Linked DNA regions of Homo sapiens: regions 2 and 3 are each linked to region 1. Evidence: promoter capture Hi-C in 16 types of primary human blood cells and fetal thymus (Javierre and others, 2016). All regions are on one chromosome and are shown on one strand. Each heading gives the region's core, a stretch centred on a gene start or on the middle of the fragment in contact. The rest is flanking DNA. Distances are from core to core; before and after follow the strand shown.

Region 1 (4,969 bases), core at 682-3,181:
GCTACGTGGTTTCGGGAGCGAGGGGTGCTGAAGTGCCAAGGAAGCCCTCACCCCCTGCCTCTGAGGCCCAGGAGGGGGAAGTGTCCACATCTGGCCTGCCAGGGTATGAAGGCTTCTCTATGGTCACTTTTAAATACCAGCCTGTCACATTCGGTGTCAGCAGCCCACAGGCCCAAAGGGTGCTGGGACCGGGTGGATGAGGAGGGCACAGGCCCCAGGGCATGGGGGTTGCTGGGGGCATGTGAGTGCCACGTGTGGCATGTGGGTGGGAGTTCCAGGGTCAGGACACATAGAGTCCTAGAGTCCTCGTTCCAACCGAGGAAGGGGACCTGGACCCTGTAGTGCCCACTTCACACCAAGCTCAGAATGCAACAAGCACCTGTCCTGGCCTCAGCAACACACGACTGTGTTCCAGAGTCCCCTTTCTACGCAGAGGGAGCCCTGACCTTCACCTGGGAGCTGTGGCATGGGGTGAGTGGGGGGAGGCCTTTGAAACCCAAGGAGGGAAGGGCAGCCTTGAGTCACAGCTGTGGGGGCAGGGGAGAGGCAGGAGGTGGAAGAGGGGAGGGAGGAGTGGGGAGAAGCAGGAGATGGGCACCCAGAGAACCAAGCGCCCCTTCCTTTCCCGTGCCCAAGACGCCCGGTCACCTCCCTGGCCAGCGGCGCCCCTTACCCTGGACAGTGACCCGGTGCCCTCTGTGCAAGGCTACCTGTCCCCCTCCCAGCCCGCCCCCACCCCCCTGCCCTCCAGAGGAGACTCGAGCAGGGAAAGGCGGTGCGGCGCCCAGCACGGGCAGAAGGTCAAAGGGAGTCAGGGCGGTGTCAGGTGTCTCCCTGATGAAGTGTTGGGGGGGCGGCGGGGGGAGAAGGAGACAGGAAAACCCAGAGAAGGGGCCTGCTGGGAGAACCAGCGCTTCGAGAGCGGCGGGAAGGATCAGCGGGCAGGGAGAGCAGTCCGAGGAGCAGGCGGGGGTCCCTGGGCGGCGCGTGCTCACCTGGTCACTGTGCGCCGCGCGCGCGGGCTGTGCGCCCTCTCCAGTCCCAGGCGCGCCCCGATGCCGGCCAGCACCAGCAGCGCTGCGACGCCGCACACAGCGTAGACGGCCGTATGGCTGCGCTCGCGGCCGGGGTCCCGGGGCGCTGCGGTGTCGCGGGCGCGGGCGGGCGGCCGGCCTGTCTGGACCCAGGCCGGCGTGTCGTAGTTGGAACAGCGGCTCTGGTCGAGGCGCCGCGGCCCGTCGTGGCAGCAGAAGCGGTAGCCGCACGTGCCGCAGCAGAAGCTGTAGGCTCCGGAGCTGCAGTTGAAGGGCGGGTCCCACTGGCCCATCACGTCGTAGTAGCCGCGGCAGCGGTCGCCCCCCTCCGGGGCTGTCGTGCCGGGCGCCGCGGGACCCTGCGCCTCGGGGGCTCCCGCGCGGCCCGACGGCGGCCGCGCCAGCAGCAACGCGAGCCGAAGCGCGAGCGCGAGCCGGAGGCCGGGAGGACGGCGGCCGCCGAGCAGTCCCCGCGCCCCGGCCCGCGCCATCGGGCCCGCGCCTCCCGCTACTGCGCCCGGTGCATGGCCGGGCGCCGCGGCTCCCTCCGGCTCGGCTCCTCCGCTCCCGCAGGGATCGCGCTGGCTCCCGGCGCACGCCGCCTCGGCCGTCGGCCTCCTCTGGGGACCCCAGCCCCGAGTGGGCTGGGTCTGGAGCTCCGAGGCCGCACCTCCGGTGGGCGCGTCCTCCGCCCGGGCTCACCTCGGACCCGAGCTGCCCGGTCCGCGTCCTGAGATCTTCCCCGGGCCGGGCGGCGGGTCCTCGCCTGCGCGCGGCCCCCGGCTTCTCCCCGGCCCGGCAGGTGTGCGGGTCTTGGCCCTAGCGGAGGCCGCGCCGGGGCCGCGGGCCGCCCGACTGCGCTACCTTCCCGCCGCGCTCTCAGTACAGCCCGCGCTCTGGCTCCGGCTCCGGCTCCGGCTCCCGCTCGGGCTCGGCGCGGGCTCGGGCGGGCGGGGGAGGGAGAGAGGAGGGAGGGCGGAAGGGAGGCAGAGCCGGGGGAGGAGCGCGGCTGCCGCGAGGGGCGAGAGGAGGCAGCAGGCCCCGCGGAGCCGGGAGGCCCCACAGGGAACCCCCCTCCACAAAGACTGCCCCGAAACATTCATCGGAACTGGGCGCTCGAAGGGGATCAGTTCTAGGGCCCGCGACTAGAGCGTCCCTGTCTTACAGGTGCGGGGACCTGTACCTTACAGGCGCGGAGGTCAAAGCAGCCCGGAATTGCCCCGGGACGGGCAGGGCCACCCTCTCACCTCCTTCCCGTCCCCTCTGTCCGTTCTGATCATAACATAAGGAGGGCCCCTTCCCCTCTCGGCGCCTCGATTTTCCCACCTGTCAAATGGGAAGGACTTCCCCTGGCAGCGCCGCTTCAGAGGGCCAAGGATTTACCCCACGGCGCGAGCCCAGTTCCAGAACCCCTCGAACGCTGGGCTGGGGTCCAGGGATGTCCCCATCCCTGCGTCGATGGGCACGGCTTGGCTGACGCACTTCCGCGATCTGCTCCCTCCCCAGGTGTGAGGAGAGGGGGACTGGGCTCGCCCCTGCCCTGGAAAAGGAAAGCCTGGAAAAGGAAGACCTCCGCCCTGCGCCCACCCGCAGGTCCTTTCACAAACCGAGGGGTAGGGTGTGGGGGCCCTAAGGAGCCCGGACCCGGTCCCAGCACGGCCCAGTGGTGTTTTCGGGGTTGAGTTGAACTGGAGAAGGTCCTGGTGCTTGGCTTCTCCCTGCCTCAGTATCTCATCTTAACATCAAAGACTCTTCCTGGAGGGCAGACTCATAATCTGCCCCTTCCAGGAGATAGGGGTCGATATGGAACCTCCCTCTGTCCAGACGGAAACAGCAGGAGGGCAAGGACTGGGCGTGCAATTCACCCAGTGTGCAGCTCAGGCCTCTGTCGGCATTTGCTGAATGAATAAATGAATGAAAGGACTCCAGCGCCTAGTTTCTGTGAGATGAAACATTTGGGGCTCCCTAGGGTCCCTCCTGGTCCCCTTTCCATCCGTCCTTCTCTCAGCAACTGGGACCAGCTTATGAAAGTGGAGAAGGTGGGGGAGAAGAAGAGGAAGGATTTACATTTTAAGGAGGATCAAGTCTGTTGCCTGACATGAGGGGCTGACAGACTAATTTCAGGTATTAATGGGTTCAGACAGGAAGAGGAGGTGACCTCCCCACTCAGAGCTTCTCCTTGTGCCCTGGCCAAAGACAGCCTGCTCCCTCCACCTACACACACACATGTGCACACACATGTACACACACTTCCCATCCAGCCCCGAAAACCCACCCTCATTAAAGGACCCCTTATTACCAGTTTAGAAGAAAAAACACAGATGAACAAAGGAATTAAATGAAATTGCTTTAATCCCATGTCCAGAGACAACCACACTAAAATATGCCACATTTACATGCTGGATTGTAACTAGTTTGTGGTTTACTTTTTGCCATCCTTAAACTTTTCGTTTGGCTGGGGGCAGTGGCTCACGCCTGTAATCCCAACACTTTGGGAGGCTGAGGCAGGTGGATCACAAGGTCAGGAGTTGGAGACTAGGCTGACCAACATGGTGAAACCCCACCTCTACTAAAAATACAAAAATTAGCTGGGCATGGTGGCATATGCCTGTAATCCCAGCTACTCGGAAGGCTGAGGCCAGAGAATCGCTTGAACCTGGGAGGCAGAGTTTGCAGTGAGCTGAGATCACACCATTGCCCTCCAGCCTGGGAAACAGATTGAGACTCCGTCTTAAAAAAACAAACAAACAAACAAAAAAAAAAAAACAAAAAAAAACCTTCTCATTTGTGATTCTTCTCAGAGCTTCTGAGCTCTACTTTCTGGAGCGTCCTTTCCTGCTTCCTTTCCTTAGGGCCATTCCTAGAAATGGAATCCGTGGCACAACCCGTATCACTGGTATTGAAGTCCCCACCGCCCTCTGCCCACTGCCCTGGAGGCTGCAGGAGCTCTGAGGGGGGCCTCTTCTCCCACCTTTCCCACCCGTTGCCGGGCACTGGGTTGAAAGAGGCTTGTCTCTGCCCCCTTGGAACTGGGGCCTCTTCCAAGTTAGAGTGAGGGGTCAGAGCAAGTCTCCCAGTGCTCCCCCTTCCTGGACACCCTCCTGCCCCCACCGTCCTGGCACTGGGTGCTTTCCTCATGTTGACCCCATCAGGCCTTCACATACATATACATAGTGACAGCCATTTGTCCAATGAAGGAAGTGGATTCCAGCCCCTCCCAGGGACTGATGTCCAACCCCCAACACCACCCCCCACCCCCCACCACACACACACCTTCCTCCCCGTCTCAATCTGATTCAGTGGTCAGCCAGCAGCCATAGGTAACCATAACTACTGGGTCTGTGCCAGGCACTGGATACCCTCTTCTCTCCATGGGAACACCTGGCCGCGGGGAGTGAGTGGAGCAGGAGAGGGCAGCTGTGAACACAGAGCCCAGCTGACCCTGACTGGCTGAGTCCTGGGATCTGATCGCCCATTCAGCTGACACTGCCCCAGGTGCCTGGCCATGTGCCGGGTGAGGGGATCTGGAGATAGAGCAGCCCGGCCGAGGAGTGACCCCTTTGCCCTGGACCCCGGGGTCTCTCACCCCATCAAGGCTCCAGGGCAGCCACCCCTTATCTCTTCTGCCTGCCCCCCTCCACTACCACTAAGCCTGTGTCACCAAAACTCATCCATTGATCCAGGCTTAAAATAACCCCTGGCATCTGCAGCAAGCCCCGCGGGGCGGGCAGAGGAGCCGAGTCCCTGCTCCTGAAGGGCACCCGCCCCGCCCCCAGCTCCCAATGCTGGCAGCTCGAGTGTGCGGGTGTCTGCGCGTGTTTGGGTGACAGCAAGAGTGTGCATGTCTGGGGCTAGCATGACTATGAGGGCCTTCCCTGCACGGTGGGCATGTGTGTGCACACGTGTTTGTCAGCATACATGCTCCTGTGCACGAA
Region 2 (4,969 bases), core at 798-3,297, 200 kb before region 1:
CTCTCGTTGCCCATGCTGGAGTGCAATGGCACGATCTTGGCTCACTACAACCTCCGCCTGCCGGGTTCAAGCAATTCTCCTGCCTCAACCTCCCGAGTAGCTGGGATTACAGGCCTGCACCTCCATGTCCGGCTAATTTTGTTTTTCTAATAGAGACGAGGTTTCTCCATGTTGGTCAGGCTGGTCTCAAATTCCTCACCTCAGGTGATCCGCCTGCCTCGGCCTCCCAAAGTGCTGGGATTACAGATGTGAGCCACTGTGCCTGGCCTGTGCACACATAGTTAAATGGAAGAAATAGAAAAGTATAATACCAATTAGCCCAGGCAAATCACTATCCTGCACTGATTGAGTAGAAGGGCCATGGAAGGTGGACTCTGGGTTGGGGGTGCCTCCTGGTTAGTAATACTGTTGTGTCTGTTCAGTCCTTATTCAGATCACAACGCAGCTGAAGCTGGAGCAGACTATCCGTTGCCTGCTGGATGAGTGCCACAAAGAGGTCAGAAAATAGCTATGGGTTCTTGAGTCTCTCAGAATCCTCAGATGTCAGAGCTGGGTCAACCCTTTGAACAAATGAGAGATTGAAGTCCAGGGAGGAAAAGGAGCTTTCCTGAGGTCACTGAGTTGGTGGCAGAGTCAGAGCTAAGGCCTGGGTCCACTGATCATGCTCCAGTGTTCTTTACAGCTTTCTTCTTTCCCCTTTCAATCTCCCAAATGTTACCTCCATGCAATGAAGTGCCATCTTTCTGGCATAATCATCCCATGGTTCATTTTCCGTGACTTCCTAATTATAATACAGATTTCCTTGATGAAGTTGTCAAGGAAATATGTTCTCTATGTCTTGTTTTGGTGGTTTTATTTAATTTTGAATTGTATACATTACTTAGTACTGAAGGTGTTTGGTTCTATCAGCTTACTTTGTACTGAAGGCGTTTGCTTCTATCTGAGGTAAGCATTGAGTGGATATGGTATGTTTAATCTGCTTTCTTCAGTGTAGTCAAAGAAATTAGTTAGCCAGGCACAATGGCTCACACCTGTAATCCCAGCACTTTGGGAGGCTGAGGTGGGTGGATCACTTGAGGTCAGGAGTTCGAGATCAGCCTGGCCATTATGGTGAAACCCCGTCTCTACTAAAAATACAAAAAAAAAAAAAAATTAGCTGGGCGTGGTGGTGCATGCAAGTAATCCCAGCTACTGGGGAGGCTGAGGCAGGGGAATTGCATGAACCCAGGAGGTGGAGTTTGCAGTGAGCTGAGATCGCACCACTGCACCCCAGCCTGGGTGACAAAGCAAGACTCCATCTAAAAAAAAAAAATATCAGTTAAAGAGCAGCTTTTGTGTTGTATTTAAGACTGAGGAATAATATCAGAATAACTTTTTATTTAATTTGCAGAAGGAAAACAAATGTTTATCTTGTTAAAACCATCAAGAACATTTCATTATAAATTATATTTCAATTATATCATAGTTATTTTACATATGATTAATATGTCAGATTGAATTTATAATTATATATATCAGTGCTTATGATTATGATGAGATGATGCCACTTAACATTTATTGAGCACTTTCTATGGGCTAGGGATTGTATGAGGTGGTTTATATGTAATATCTCATTCAGCCCTATCAACAACCCTATAAAGCTGTTACTATTATTATTTCCCACCAGAGTTAAGAATCTTGCCAAAAGTGGTATGACTAGCTAGTCAATAGAAAAGGTAAAATATGGACTATTGACTCTCCCTGTAAAGCATGAAGCATAGTGCCTGGTATACAGAGAATGTTCAGTAATAGGAGCTATAATAACTATGATAACAATAATTTTTTTTTTTTTTTTGAGACGGAGTCTTTCACTGTTTCCCAGGCTGGAGTGCAGTGGCGCAATCTTGGCTCACTGCAAGCTCCGCCTCCCGGGTTCACGCCATTCTCCTGCCTCAGCCTCCCGAGTAGCTGGGACTACAGGCGCCTCCCACCACACCCGGCTAATTTTTTGTACTTTTAGTAGAGACGGGGTTTCACTGTGTTAGCCAGGATGGTCTCGATCTCCTGACCTCGTGATCCGCCCGCCTCGGCCTCCCAAAATGCTGGGATTACAGCGTGAGCCACCACGCCTGGCCAACAATAATTTTTTTTTTTTGCATCGAGTCAGTGTTCTGTCTTTATGACATTTCAAACTTTTGTCCCCCAACTTCTGGTTCTATGGAGGCAAAATATGTAGATTTTAATTCAGTTTAACAAACATGCACTGAGCTAGGTACTGAGGACTCTGAGAGGACTCAGTCCCTTTCCTCTGGGAGTTCCCAGTCCAGTGGGGGAGCTGGACACTAAGCTAAAAAAGCTGATTGCTGACTGTGGTGAGAGACACATGCAATACAGGCATTGGTGTGGGTAGGGAAAGATCAGTTTTGGTGGAAGATCTGTCCTGATCCTAATTGACAGAATGGAGCATATTCACTTTCTGTAGCTGTGTAACATGCCCTCCATGCGAGGCAGCCTGGCCACCCTGACCCTTCTTGGCAAGTTGGTGGATGCCATCCCTGCTCTGGCAGACGAGCTTGTAATGGAGCATGGTGAGTGACCTGTGGGAGGAGCTGCCACTACCCTTTTACCTGCTTTTATCATACTGCCATTTGGGTGTCCCATTCACTCTGTACACCTGGGAAGTCATTACTTTCCTGCTTTAGCCTTCAGTTTCCCCGTCTGCAAAATGTACTGTATGTCGGTCAATTTGAAAAAGGTCAGTTTTTTGACTCTATTCTTGGACTATTTCCATTCATTCTTTTTTTTTTTTTTTTTTTTTTTTTTTTTTTTTTTTTTGAGACGGAGTCTTGCTCTTGTTGCCCAGGCTGGAGTGCAATGGCGCAATCTCGACTCACTGCAACCTCCACCTCCCGGGTTCAAGCGATTCTCCTACCTCAGCCTCCCGAGTAGCTGGGATTACAGGCATGTGCCACCACGCTGGACTAATTTTGTATTTTTGGTAGAGACGGGGTTTCTCCATGTTGGTCAGGCTGGTCTTGACCTCCCAACCTCAGGTGATCCGCCTGCCTCAGCCTCCCAAAGTGCTGGGATTACAGGCGTGAGCCACCACGCTGGCCTTCCATTCATTCTTTTTTTTTTTTTTTTTTCCCTGAGACGAGTCTTGCTCTGTTGCCCAGGCTGGAGTGCAGTGGCGCGATCTCGGCTCACTGCAAGCTCTGCCTCCCGGGTTCACGCCATTCTACTGCCTCAGCCTCCCGAGTAGCTTGGACTACAGGCGCCTGCCACCATGCCTGGCTAATTTTTTGTATTTTTAGTAGAGACGGAGTTTCACCATGTTAGCCAGGATGGTCTCGATCTCCTGACCTGCTGTTGGACCCGCCTCAGTCTCCCAAAGTGCTGGGATTACAGGTGTGAGCCACCACGCCCGGCTCCATTCATTCTTTAACACAAATTAATTAAGTACCTACTATGAACCTTCCTTTTGGATGGAAGGAGGAATTCTGGAATATAGAAGCACTTTTTTCTGTCAGTGAAATGCAAATAAATATCTCCCAGAGGATTTACCAAAGGGTAAATAACTTCTTTAAGTTGGTTTCCCCTTTTTAAAAAAATTAATAATAATAATAATAATTTTTTGAGACAGAACCGGGCTACAGCGCAGTGGCATGATCTTGGCTTACTGAAATCTCTGCCTCCCAGGTTCAAGTGATTTTCCTGCTTCAGCCTCCTGAGTAGCTGGGATTATAGGCGTCCGCCACAACACCAGGCTAATTTTTGTATTTTTAGTAGAGGTGGGGTTTCGCCATGTTGGCCAGACTGGTCTTGAACTCCTGACTTCAAGTGATCTGCCCACCTCGGCCTCCCAAAGTGGTGGGATTACAGCCATGAGGCACCATGCCCAGCCTAATTATTATTATTTTTTAGAGACCAGATCTCACTATGTAGAGCAGGTTGGTCTCAACCTGCTGGTCTCAAGTGATCCTCCCACCTTGGCCTCCCAAAGTGCTGAGATTTCAGGAATGAGCCACTGCACCTGGCTTTCTTTTTCTTTTTTCTTTTCTTTTTTTTTTTTTTTGAGTTGGAGTCTCGCTCTGTTGCCTAGGCTGGAGTGTGGTGGCATGATCTCGGCTCACTGCAACCTCTGCCTCGTGGGTTTCAGCGATTCTCCTGCCTCAGCTTCTCAAGTAGCTGGGATTACAGGCGTGTGCCAGCATGCCCGGCTAATTTTTGTATTTTTAGTAGATGCTGGGTCTCGTCTTGTTGGCCAGGCTGGTCTCGAACTCCTGACCTTAGGTGATCCTTCTGCCTTGGCCTTCCCAAGTGCTGGGATTACAGGTGTGAGTTACTGTGCCCAGTTTGGTTTTGCCTTTAGATTAAGCATGCAGAAAGCATTTTTTGTGGGGGATTATAGGGACTTACCATTACTACCCCGTTAGGAATAATAGATTGGAGTTTCATATAGCAGTTGACATTGTGAAATTTCCCTTGGCTCCTTGGTTGTTTTCTGGACAGGCAACCTGATGGAGCATCTGTTGAGAGGCTTAGTATACCCCAGTGAGGGCATACAAGCTTCTGTCTGTTACCTTTATGGGAAGCTATACTCCTCACCAGTGGCAGCTGAGATGCTTTCAGGACACTTCCGTGAGAAGCTTTTTCCCCTCTTCCTTTCCATCCTGGATGGTGCCCAGACAAAGGAGCTGCAGATTAACTGCTTGGGTAAGACATGAGGCTGGAGAAAAAAGGGAGAATAAGTTTTTGACATTTTGCTAGAAGACTTGAGATATTGGGTTCTCTAGTAGTGGGGAAGTTTGCTGTTTTGCAAAAGGTAGAAGCCACAAGGCTTGAGAGATAAGAGACACACTGTGTGAAAGATGCCTAGAGTTGGTATGACATCTTAAGAATGTTGCCTTTGGAGGAAAATAGGAAGGAAAGTGGGACAGCAATTTTTTCTGCCTTTACTGCCTGCCCTGGTGCATCCTGTATTTGCTGG
Region 3 (4,969 bases), core at 1,702-4,201, 170 kb before region 1:
ACCTAAAACTGGTATTTCTTGTTCCCTCAACTTGAAGCAGTGTCTCCTGAGTTCCTACGTGGTTAGCAGCACCCCAACTCTTCTTTTCCCCTCTCTTCCCTACTTCTACTTCTCAAGGCCAGTCAGCTATACCTTTAATTTTACATTGTGAAAGTTGTTAATATTTATAGTCTCTTCTGTAACTATATTTAAGTCTTTGTGATTTGACTCTAGGTTGGTTCTAAAAATTGAAACAAAAAATAGCATTTACGTGACAGTGACTTCAGTCTGTCTTCTTTCCTCCTTTGTCCTTCCCTGAATTTGAATCTCTAAATCTAGGACATGAATTCTAGAGTGGGAGGGATGAGTAAACCAACAAGGTAACAAAAGCATAAGTAAGAGCAATGTCAATCAGAGGCATCTATGCTGAGCTGGAAGTCTTCCAGCAGGACACTGCTAGAGGGGACCAGTAGTGCCTTTTGGGCAGGAAGTGGTATTTCAGTTGTACTATGAAGGGTGAGAGTTAGATTTGTGGAAGGACCTGGATTAGCAAAACATTTGGGTTCGAGAGTATAGAGATTGCTCAGGGTGCAGTAGCCAGTTGACCAGCAGGTTACATGAAGCGGGTGTTGCCTGGAGAAGCAGGAAAGCTGTTGGGTCAGAATTGTGGAGAGAGATGGATAGGGGGCAGGTTATTAAGCCTTGGATTATTTTACTTTTTTTTTGGTGGGGGGGGTGGAGTCTCGCTCTGTTGCTCAGGCTGGAGTTCAGTGGCTCGATCTCGGTTCACCACAACCTCCACCTCCCAGGTTCAAACGATTCTCCTGCCTTAGCCTCGCGAGTAGCTGGGACTACAGGTGCCCGCCACCACGCCTGGATACTTCTTGTATTTTTAGTAGAGATGCGTTTTCACCATATTGGCCAGGCTGGTATCGAATTCCTGACCTTGTGATCTGCCTGCCTCAGCCTCCCAAAGTGCTGGGATTATAGGCGTGATCCACCGCGCCCGGCCAAAGATGATTTTACTTTTGACTTTAACTTCCCAGAATGTTTACTGACGTGGTCCCTCTGAGGTGGGGTGGTTCAGAGTGTCTTTGGAAAGCACAACTAGAAGGAAGAATGAAGAGTGAGAGCTGCTAAAAAGAATTTAAAGAGGCCGGGTATAGTGGCTCACACCTGTAATCCCAGCACTTTGGGAGGCTGAGGCTGGAGGATCGCTTCAGCTCAGGAATTTGAGACTAGCCTGGATAACCTGAGGAAACGCTATCTCTACAAAAATTATCCAAGCTTGGTGTATGCCTGTAGTCCCGGCTACTCAAGAGGCTGAGGCAGGAAGATTGCTTGAGCCCAGGAGATTGAGGCTGCTGTGAGTTGTGTTTGTGCCACTGCACTCCAGCCTGGGCAGCAGAGCGAGACCCTGTCTCAAAAACAAAAACAAAAACAAAAACAAACCCAAGAATTTAAAGGTGGTGGAACTAGGGCTTGATGATCGTGTAGGATCGTCAAACTTGGAGCTTCCAGAGATGAAGAAGGAAAGGGGAAATCAAGCCGTAACCATATGCAGTTGACTGAGAACCTGTTAGAAGGCCCAACAGATGGCTCTCAGTGCTCAACAAAGGCTCAGGGATGAGGGTCTTGCTCTGTCACCAGGCTGGAGTGCTGTGATGTGATCTTGGCTCGCTGCAACCTCCAACTCCCTGGTTCAAGCGATTCTCCTGCCTCAGCCTGCCGAGTAGCTGGGATTACAGGCACGCGCCACCATGCCCAGCTAAATTTTGTATTTTTAGTAGAGACAGGGTTTCATATCATAATGTTTTAAGAAAGTTTACAAATTTGTGTCAGGCTGCATTCAAAGTTGTCCTGGGCTGCATGCGGCCTGTGGGCTGTGGGTGGGACAAGCTTGCTTTAGAGGGGACATGGCCCTGACGACACCTCAATTTCAGATTTCTAGCCTCCAGAACTGTGAGAGGATAAACTTCTGTTGTTTTAAGCCACACAGTTTGTGGTAATTTATTATAGCAGCCCTAAGAAACCAATACCCTGTGAAATAGTCATTCATTCATTTGACATCTGTTCTATTAATCATCAACTTACAATGCATCTGTCTCTGTTTAGGTAAAGTGAAAAGATGGAACTGGTCCCTTTCCTCTTGGAAACTCACAATTAAACTAGTCAATGACTGTTGGCTCTTCTGAGTCTATAGAATCTGAGGGTTCAAATGGGCCTTAGGTGTTACCTGTCTACATTTACCCCACACTCATAATGATTGAATCTCCAAAAGTACTTTTCCAGTCTCTGCGTATAGTCTCATAGAATGGGGAATCACTTCTCCCTAGAGATGGTCCCCAATACTTCTATAGACTTTGACTCAGAAAATTCTCAGGCTGATGCTGGGCGTGGTGGCTCACGCTTGTAATTCCAGCACTTTGAGAGGCTGAGGCGGCAGATCATGAGGTCAAGAAACCCCGTCTCTACTAAAAATACAAAAATTAACTGGGTGTGGTGGCGTGCGCCTGTAGTCCCAGCTACTTGGGAGGCTGAGGCAGGAGAATCACTTAAACCCGGGAGGCAGAGGTTGCAGTGAGCTTAGATTGCGCCACTGTACCCCAGCCTGGTGACAGAGCGAGACTCCATCTCAAAAAAAAAAAAAAAAAAGAGAAAAGAAAGTTCTCAGGCTGGGTGCAGTGGCTCATGCCTGTAATCCCACACTTTGGGAAGCTGTGGTGGGTGGATAACTTGAGGTCAGGAGTTTGAAACCAGCCTGGCCAACATGGTGAAATCTCATCTCTACTAAAAGTACAAAACTTAGCTGGGTGTAGTGGTGTGCGCCTGTAGTCCCAGTTACTCAGGTGGCTGAGGCAGGAGAATTGCTTGGATCTGGGAGATGGAGGTTGCAGGGAGCCAAGATCACACCACTGCACTCCAGCCTGGGTGACAGAGTGAGACTCCATCTCTGGATCTTAGTAACATTTACCTGTTGATCCTGGTTTTCCTCGTTGAGTTAACAAAGTTTGATCCCTCTTCCCCAGAAGAGCTTATTACTTATTGGAAAACAGTAGCTGTCACTCTCTTGATGCACGTTCAATTCTAGGTAGTGCTTCTTTTACCAGCAGGCTCTCCTCTGCGAGAAAACCTTGTATCCTTAATAGTAATAATAGACACAGCTGACATTTATAAGGACTTATTACGTATTAAGCATCATGCTAAGTGTTTGGCATACATTATCGAATTTGATCCCCATAATAAGTCTATGAGGAGAGTACTATTAGCCTCATTTAATAGATGAGGAAATTGATGGTTAGAGAGGGCAAGGAATGTACAAGAAGTTGTGCAGTTAGATAAGCATTGAAGTAAGGATTTTTTTGAGACAAAGTCTTGTTCTGTCACCCAGGCTGGATTGCAGTAGTATGATCACGGCTCACTGCAGCTTCTACCTTCTTGGGCTCAGGTGATCCTCCCACCTCTGCCTCTTGAGTAACTGAAATCACAGGTGTATGCCACCACACTTGGCTAATTTTTGTGGAGACTGGGTTTCACCATGTTGCCCAGGCTGGTCTCCATCTCCTGGACTCAAGACATCTACTCATCTCAGTCTCCCAAAGTGCTGGAATTAACAGGCGTGAGCCACCATTCCTGGCCTGGAGTAAGGATTTTTATCAGATTAGATTCCATGTTCTGATCCAACTGCACTGCCTCTCATTGCCTGAGAACCTGGGGTTATCTTGGGAATACCGTTGCCTTACCGTGAACCTGCTTTTGTCTCTCTGGATGCAGGAAGGACCATCAGAGCACTCCACCTGTGCAGTATGGGGAACTGCAGGCTTTGCTAGAAGCCATGCTAAACCGATGTGCGGAGTTTTCCCAGACCTTGCTGAGCAGGAGGCCCCTGGTCAGTGTACTGCAGCCTGCTGCTTCCGAAGATCATGCTGCAGTGTGTTTTTAGAAAGATAATTAGTATATTCCCTTACTTTTGTATGCTATTTCATGACTTTTTCTCATGCACACATGGCTACAATGAGATGCTTTTTCCCTAATAGCAGAACTATGAAGCTTAAGGATTACTATTGTCATTTTTACAGATGGGGAAACTAAAGCCACGAGGGTTAAATAATTTTTCTCTAAGGTCCAAAACTATAAAGTACCTAAGCCTAGAACAGTAAATTCCAGGGTGTTTTTACCCCAGTCTATTACACACATTCTCTGTTTATATCATATAAGCAGATAGGGTAAACATGCTCACAAAATTATTTAAGTCTGAATTCACTAGAATCTTAGAATCTGACCAATGTGCCATGTGTTGTAGCTGCTGGCTTTTAATAGCCTGTAGACTTAAGATATCAGGAAAGACACTGTCAGTGTGAATGTTGATTATGTCTTTCAGGATTAACTTTGGAAACTAAGCTCTTTACACCTGATGGAGTGGGGATTTTCTTGTGTTTTAGAGCAACTAATAGGGCCATTATAGTCAAGCTAATGCCCACTAGCCTGTGACAGCTTTCTGCATATAATAGACCAATAGTCATTCCTGTGGTTCAGAGAGACTGTAGGTTAGGGTCCCTCCAACACTGCTACCATTTTTTTTTTTCCCGAGATGGAGTCTTACTCTGTGGCCCCAGTCTGGAGTGCAGTGGCACGATCTCGACTCACTGCAACCTCCGCCTCCCGGGTTCCAGTGATTCTCCTGCCTCAGCCTCCCGAGTAGCTGGGATTACAGGCATGCACCACCACACCTGGCTAATTTTTGTAATTTTAGTAGAGACAGGGTTTCACTGTGTTGGCCAGGCTGGTCTCGAACTCCTGACCTCCACCTCGGCCTCCTAAAGTTCTGGGATTACAGGCATGATCCACTGCGCTGGGCCCCTGCTACCATTTTTTTTTATTCTGAGACGGAGTCTTGCTCTGTTGCCCAGGCTGGAGTGCAGTGGTGCGATTTTGGCTCACTGCAACCTTCGCCTCCGGGGTTCAAGCAATTCTCCTGCCTCAGCCTCCC

Evidence for each region. Contacts are between HindIII fragments. The CHiCAGO score rates a contact against its expected background, and 5 or more counts as called.
Region 2: a fragment that was not itself captured here is called in contact with the fragment with the promoter of SHISA8 in region 1 in 1 of 17 cell types (M1 macrophages); the score reaches 5.7 in M1 macrophages.
Region 3: a fragment that was not itself captured here is called in contact with the fragment with the promoter of SHISA8 in region 1 in 4 of 17 cell types (endothelial precursors, naive CD4 T cells, erythroblasts and 1 more); the score reaches 7.3 in endothelial precursors.

Annotation. Positions count from the first base shown.
Region 1 is chr22:41,913,143-41,918,111 of GRCh38, forward strand. SHISA8 (shisa family member 8) reads right to left here and starts at 1,932. Exons shown (of 4, transcript NM_001207020.3): 1 at 996-1,932. The coding sequence starts at 1,525. LOC124905125 (a long non-coding RNA gene) reads right to left here. Exons shown (of 2, transcript XR_007068113.1): 1 at 4,308-4,969; 2 at 3,369-3,894. RefSeq lists silencers at 1,131-1,240, 1,311-1,390, 1,531-1,610, 1,651-1,720, 1,791-1,870 and 2 more and enhancers at 1,233-2,158, 4,538-4,697, 4,708-4,797. The HindIII fragment of the contact is 20,830 bases long and covers 1-4,969 here.
Region 2 is chr22:41,713,580-41,718,548 of GRCh38, forward strand. MEI1 (meiotic double-stranded break formation protein 1) reads left to right here. Exons shown (of 31, transcript NM_152513.4): 4 at 423-496; 5 at 2,462-2,567; 6 at 4,492-4,695. Among named protein-coding and RNA genes, the nearest start is that of MEI1, 17 kb to the left of the region's middle. The HindIII fragment of the contact is 4,997 bases long and covers 1-4,546 here.
Region 3 is chr22:41,739,327-41,744,295 of GRCh38, forward strand. MEI1 (meiotic double-stranded break formation protein 1) reads left to right here. Exons shown (of 31, transcript NM_152513.4): 12 at 3,754-3,868. Among named protein-coding and RNA genes, the nearest start is that of MEI1, 42 kb to the left of the region's middle. The HindIII fragment of the contact is 2,151 bases long and covers 1,877-4,027 here.